2 separate regions of the Homo sapiens genome follow, and region 1 is linked to region 2. The links are contacts of gene promoters, found by promoter capture Hi-C in human tissues and cell types (Jung and others, 2019). All regions are on one chromosome and are shown on one strand. Each heading gives the region's core, a stretch centred on a gene start or on the middle of the fragment in contact. The rest is flanking DNA. Distances are from core to core; before and after follow the strand shown.

Region 1 (3,418 bases), core at 802-3,301, 330 kb after region 2:
GTGCTCTACAGAGTGCAGGGAAAAAAAGACTCAGTGAAAATGAACATATATGAGACATATGACCTTCTTTTAGAATCCTGGTCCAGTTTTTGTTAAATATAGTGTATTAAGAGCCACTGTCTGCTCAGAGTCATGGCCATTTCATATGAAAATTTAGATGAGGCACTAACTTATTGAGTGCATAGGTGATATTCCTTTTTCTACATCAACTCTAATTCTCATGATGATATCAAAGTTAAAAAATATTAAAAGCAATAGAAAAGAAAAGATAGTTACTATGGTGTATTAGTCTGTTTTTATGCTGCTGATAAAGACGTACCCAAGACTGAGTAATTTATAAAGTAAAAGAGGTTTAGTGGACTCACAGTTCCACGTGGCTAGGGAGGCCTCACAATCATGAAGGAAGGCAAAAGGCATGTCTTACATGGTGGCATACAAGAGAGAACTTGTGCAGGGAACCTCCTCTTTATAAAACCATCAGATCTCATGAGATTTATTCACTATCATGAGAACAGCACGGAAAGACCCACCCCCATGATTCAGTTACCTCCCACCGGGTCCCTCCCACAACATGTGGGAAGTATGGGAGCCACAATTCAAGATGAGATTTGGCTGGGGACACAGTCAAATCATATCACATGGTATGTCAATTATATTGCAATAAAGATGTTAAAAAACCCAGTTACCTATAGAGGAATCACAGTAAGACTGAGGACAGACTTTTTAACAACATTAATGGAAACCAGAGGACAATGGGAAAAGAATATCAAAGTATTGGGAGAAAAATACTCAGCTTAGCATTTTGTTCCCTGAGTGAAGGAAAAATAAAGATATTTTCCACAAAGTTTGACAGAGTTTTTCATTAGGAAAAAGCAACTAAATGATGCAATTCAGAAAGAAAGCAATTGAAATTAGAAGGAAGTAATGGGAAGCAAGAAGGAAGAATGAACAAATAAATTGGTTAACATGTAAGTAAATATAGGCCTGCATGGATTGCCTAAAGCAAAAACAGGAGCGGTAGGAAAAATGACTACTATTGCGGGTACTACCACAAAATGGTAATAAAATTCTAGGCAGAAATTACATAAATATGGGAATGGGATAGTGACTCCAAATGATTTTTGACAAGGCTGCCGAGACCATTCAAAGGGAAAAGGATAGTCTATTCAACCAATGGTGCTAGAAAAAGTGGATCTCAACCTGCAAAAGCATGAAGGTTGGATCCTTACCTAACACCATATATAAAAATGAACTCAAAATGGATGAAAGACCTAAATATAACACCTAAAACTATAAAACTCTTTGAAGAAAACATAGGGCAAAAACTTTATGACCTTGGATTTGGCAGTGATTTCTTGGATATGACAACAAATGCATAGGCAACAAAATTAAAAATAGACAACTGGACTTCATGTAAGTTCAAAAATTTTGTGCATCAAAAGATAATAGAGTAAACAGACCACCCATAGAATGGGAGAAAATATTTGCAAATTATATATCTGATAACAAACTAATATCCAGAATATATAGAGAACTCCTAAAACTCAACAACAAAACAGTGTGAGTTTAAAACTGGATTAAAGACTTGAGTAGACATTCCTCCAAAGTTGATATATAAATGGCCAATAGAAATATGAAAAAATGCTCAAAATCAATCATCAGGAAAATGCAAATCAAAACTACAGTGAGATACCACCTCATACCCATTAGGATGGCTACTATAACACACACACACACACACACACACACACACACACACACACACACACACACACACTAACAAGTGTTAATGAGAATGTGGAGAAATTGGAGCCCTTGTCCATTACTGGTAGGAATGTAAAATGGTACAGCTCCTATGGAAAACAGTATGACAGTTCCTGAAAAGATGAAAAATAGAATCACCATATAACTCAGCAAATCCATTTGTGGGTATGTACTCCAAGGAATTGAAAGCAGGGTCTTGAGAAATTTGTACACCCATGTTCATAGCAACATTATTCACTATAGCTAAAATGTGGAAGCAGCCTAAGTGTCCATTGAGGGATTAATGTATGAGCAAAATGTGGTATATACATATAAGGAATACTATTCAACCTTAAAAAGGAAAAAAATTCTGACATATGCTGCAGTATGGATGAACCTTGAGGACATTATGTTAAATGAAATAAGCCAGTCACAAAAAGACAAACACTGTATGATTCCACTTATAAGAGGTATTTAGAGTAGAAAAAAAAATCATAAAAGCCAGTAGAATGGTGGTTGCCAGGGGGTGAAGGAGAGGGAAATGGGGAGTTATCATTTAATGGATATGGAGTTTCAGTTTTTACAAGATGAAAAGAGTTTTGGAGATGGATGGTGGTGATTTTGTACAACATTATGAATCTAATACCACTGAAATGTACACTTAAATATGTTAAAATGGTAAATTTTGTTGTGTATATTTTAACACAATTTTTTAAAATTGAAAAAAATACACTGGAGAGAGATCAGAGGATATTGCAAAACCAGGTTATGAGTAAGAAATATGACAGCTGGATGTTTAGACTGATGTTGCTTCAAGGAAAAGAAATACTAGTATTAAAATGAAGAGATTAGCAGGCTGTATGTATGTGGGAGCAGGGAGTTTATGGGAAATCTCTGTACCTTCTGCTCAATTTTGTTAAGAAACTAAAACAGTTCTAAAAAATTAAGTCTATTTAAAAAATTAAGAGATTTAAAAATAGAAGAGAGTAGAGATTTTGATTAATTTTAGACATTAAACCAAGTGAACATATTAAAATTTTAATCTTTTAAACCAATAGAGGGAATAAATGAGAATAAAGCAAATGTAACCAATTCAATAGAAAGCAGAGAAAATACTTTTTAAAGTGTAGAAAAATGTGTGATAAATAGAAAGCACAAACCAAACAGTAAATATAAATCAAAATATATCAGTAGTCATAATAAATATAAAGGGACAAAAATTGCTATGTAAAAGATAGATATTAGATTAAGGTCTCTCTCTTTTTCCCAGTCCCTGCCTGCCCCTCTTCCTCACACTGCCTCATACTATAAACACACTACAGTTTATACTGGGTCCACCTAGCTTTATAATATATAAGGAAGGAAGCCATTAATGACCAATGAATTGGGCTTAGCTCAGGAATGCAAGAATGATTTAATATTAGCAAAATCTGCTAGTGTAATTTACCATATTAACTGGCTTACGAGAAAGCCTTATGATAATCTCAGTAGATGCAAATAGAAGCTTTTGATTAAAAAATAAAATTTTTGAAAAAATTACGATTATCTCAATAGATGCAAAAAGTTGCTTTTGGCAAAATGCACTCTTCATTACTGACAAAAATCTTAGCAGATGTGTAATAGAAGATGTATTAATATAGACTAGGCTGTGATGTAATGATTAAACCCTGCTGAC
Region 2 (3,910 bases), core at 920-3,419:
TGCTTCTCAAATTATCTGTTGTAATGAACCATTTCCCAAATGGTTCCCCCACTCTATCATGGGGGAAATAATGCATTTTGGCTCACTGCAACCTCTGCCTCCCAGGTTCAAGTGGTTCTCCTGCCCCAGCCTCCCAAGTAGCTGGGATTACAGGCACACGCCACTACGCCTAGCTAATTTTTGTGTTTTTATTAGAGACGGGGTTTCACTATTTTGGTCACGCTGGTCTCGAACTCTTGACCTGGTGATCCACCCACCTCAGCCTCCCAAATTGCTGGGATTACAGGCGTGAGCCACTGCGCCCAGCCAGTTGCAATACCATTTTCATAAAACTCAAAACCAACCACAACTAAAAAATATACCGTTTAAATATACATACATATGTGATAAAATATATACATGAGAAAGAGAAACAAAATTCAAGGTAGTTATTTATTTATTTTTTGAGATTCGGTCTCACTCCGTAGCCCAGGATGGAGTGCAGTGGCACGATCTCGGCTCACCACTGCAACCTCTGTCTCCTGTAACCACCATCTCCCAGGCTCAAATGATCCTCCCACCTCAGCCTCCCGAGTAGCTGGGACTACAGGTGTGCACCACCATGCCCGGCTAATTTTCACCATGTTTCCCAGGCTGGTCTCCAACTCTTGTGCTTAAGCAATCCTCTTGCTTTTGTCTCCCAAAGTGTTGGGATTTCAGGCGTGAGCCACCGTGCCCAACCAGTAGCTGTGATTAAAGTAGGGTACAGTCAAAGGAATAGGTCAGAGGAGGAAATCGCAGATTGATGTGAAGGCGTTGGTAATGTTCTGGTTCCTACACAGGTGAAAGGTGTACAGGTGTTTAACTGCTATGCTTTTTATCTCACACATCGCATAAATTTTTCTGTGACATAAAATATTACATAACATTTAAAAAACAGGTCAAGAGGGCAGGGTGCAGTGGCTCACGTCTGTAATCCCAACACTTTGGGAGGCCGAGGGGAGCGGATCACCTGAGGTTAGCAGTTCGAGACCAGCCTGGCCAACATGGTGAAACCCTGTCTCTACTAAAAATACAAACAAAACAAAACAAAACAAAATCCGGTTGGAGTGGTGCATGCCTGTAATCCCAGCTACTCGGGAGGCTGAGGCAGGAGAATCGCTTGAACTCGGGAGGCGGAAGTTGCAGTGAACCGAGACCGCGCCACTGAACTCCGGCCTGGGCAACAAGAGCGAAACTCCGTCTCAAAACAAAAAACAAACAAATCCAAACAAACAAACAAACAAACAAAAACAGGTCAAGGATCAGAAAAGTAAAGTGAGTTGACACTCCATTTACACACAGAAAGCCCAATGTTTTTCTATTATATCAGGATACCTCTTCTAAAGAATGATAGCTTACCTTTCAATCAGAGAAATGATCTAAAGTTCAAAATGTTACTCCATAGCTAGCTCCTGGAGGAAGGAAGCTAGGTGGCAGCGTGTACACAAAAAGGCAATTCATCCAAATAATAATATAACAAGAATATAACAAGTAGGTATTTTCTGCTAAGTGCTATGTAGCACAGGGGTGAATGCGTGGCAGGGCAGGAGGAGGGCTGTTTACAAGAGGGTATGAAATGCAGCTCTTCTTTTCAAGAGTGGTTGCAGAATGCCAGGGCTACAAAGAGAGGGCCGCACATTAAGCATCGTATTATGTGGGTACAGAGTATTAGGGTTCTCGATGACCAGAAGGAGAATGAGTGCAGTTTGTTTCCTAGCAAGCCTTCTTTAGCTTCTCTTCCCAAGTGGGAGTGGGGTTGGGGTTGGGACTGTTCTTTCCTAGCTCAAAAGTTCACTTATGTCACACTAGGGTCAGTTTAAAGGAGAGTGCTAGTAAGGGTAAAGTCAAGTTACATAACCTAGCGGAAAATGAAGACCTAAAACCGCTCGTGAGCAAACACAACACTTTAGACGTAAACCTCTTCCAAAGAAGGGTGGATCTCAGCACTCTGGGTGAAAGCAATCTCAGCCAGTAAAACATCAGAACGCTTTCACGCACGCGCAGTAAGCACACGACCGGTGGCAAGAGCCCGGATAAAGGCGGAGCTAAAGGTGCCGGATAATGCATCACGGAGCGCGTGTGCGCACGCCGTAGGGGGCGGGCCGTTCGGGCTTGGTTTCCTGGGCGACCACCGCTGGCTAGTCCGTTAGAGGCGTGCGGGCTTCGGAGGCGTGCGGGCTTCGGGTGCCATGGGGACTCCTCCCGGCCTGCAGACCGACTGCGAGGCGCTGCTCAGCCGCTTCCAGGAGACGGACAGTGTACGCTTCGAGGACTTCACGGAGCTCTGGAGAAACATGAAGTTCGGGACTATCTTCTGGTGGGTGTTTCTTGTCCACCACCCGCCTCTCCCTGCCCGCAGGTGGTGTAGAAAGTTGCCTCCTTCCCGGCGATATTGCACTTGTGAAGGGCTGAGAAGAGCGGCAGTCACCGAAGGTTGCCTCCATGACTCCTGGACCTTCCCCTGTGCTCAGGCAACGCGCTTTCCCTGCTCTATTTCATTGTGCCCTGATGGTTGTTGCGGCCTCCTCCCAAATATGCGTCTCTGCCTGGCCTCCCTTCTAAACTCCTCTCTCCCATCTCCACCCTGAGCCAGGCCACTATCATTTGCCCTTCCCCAGTCTTGTTCTAGGACCTGATGTTTAAAAACACACAAGCAAAGACAAAACCCTTCAAGATTGAATTAATTTTTCCTCCAACAACCAAAGTTGTCTTTTTTTTTTTTTTTTTTTTTTTTTTTGAGACGGAGTCTCCTTTTGTCGCCCAGGCTGGAGTGCAATGGCGCGTTCGCGGCTCAGTGCAACCCTTCGCCTCTCAGGTTCAAGTGATTCTCTTGCCTCAACCTCCGGAGTAGCTGGGATTACAGGTGCCCGGCACCACGCCCGGTTAATTTTTTGTATTTTTAGTAGAGACGGGGTTTTACTATGTTGGCCAGACTGGCCTCGAACTCCTGATCTCGTGACCCGCCCGCCTCGGCCTCCCAAAGCGCTAGGATTACAGGAGTGAGCCACCGCGCCCGGCCCAAAAGTTGTTTTTCAAAAGTGCAAATTTGATTATGTCACTCCCCGACTTATTACTCTGTAGTGGTGCCCATTGCCTTTGGGATAACGCTTGAATTCTCTGACTTGCCAAGACCATTCCTCACTGGCCTTTGCCTATCTCTCCAGCTTCGCCTGCCAGTCCCCTCCATGCACTCACTTTCTTGCTCCAGCAGCTGCTTTTTTTTTTTTTTTTTTTTCTTTGGGCCCTCTACAGGCTTTTCCTAATCCTGGAGTTTCCACCGCAACTCTCTTGTTTTGTCCACCTTATTCTTCACTCAGGGTTAAGCTCAAATGACATCCTCGGGGGAAGTCTTTTTTGCTCTTCTAGACTGAGTACGCTGTTCATGTTTTTTCCCCGCATAGCACCCTGTTTTTATTTTATGTCACCGCTTTCCACATTTTGTTGTAATGGTATAGTTGAAAAGGCAGTGTGGGATTGTTAAGGGCATAGGTTATGGAACCCAATTGGCTGCATTTGATTGCAGGGTCCGCTATGACTTGGGGCAAGTTACTTGAGTTTCCATATCTGTAAAATAGAGGCAATGATAAACCTCATAGTAGTTGTGAAGATTAAATGAGCTGATATATCAGAAATACATTCTAAGTGCTCAATAAATGTTCATTATTATTATTTTTTTTTCTTGAGACATAGTCTTGCTCTGTCACCCAGGCTGGAGTGTAATGGTGCGATCTCCTATCACTGCAACCTCCACCTCCCGGGTTCAAGAGATTCTCCTGCCTCAGCCTCCCGAGTAGCTGGGACTACGGCTTGTGCCACCAAGCCTGGCTAATTTTTGTATTTTTAGTAGAGACGGGATTTCACCATGTTGGCCAGGCTGGTCAAATGTTCA

Evidence for each region. Contacts are between HindIII fragments. The study calls those that stand out against the background at their distance.
Region 1: a contact is called between a fragment that was not itself captured here and the fragment with the promoter of SNAPC1 in region 2, in 1 of the 25 tissues and cell types used here (dorsolateral prefrontal cortex).

What each region holds. Positions count from the first base shown.
Region 1 is chr14:62,090,451-62,093,868 of GRCh38, forward strand. The region is part of intron 7 of SYT16 (synaptotagmin 16); the gene reads left to right. Among named protein-coding and RNA genes, the nearest start is that of LINC00644, 48 kb to the right of the region's middle. The HindIII fragment of the contact is 3,249 bases long and covers 428-3,418 here.
Region 2 is chr14:61,760,251-61,764,160 of GRCh38, forward strand. It overlaps SNAPC1 (small nuclear RNA activating complex polypeptide 1), which reads left to right and starts at 2,170. Exons shown (of 10, transcript NM_003082.4): 1 at 2,170-2,338. The coding sequence starts at 2,211. RefSeq lists enhancers at 164-908, 909-1,652, 1,496-1,585, 1,653-2,396, 2,397-3,140. The HindIII fragment of the contact is 10,492 bases long and covers 1-3,910 here.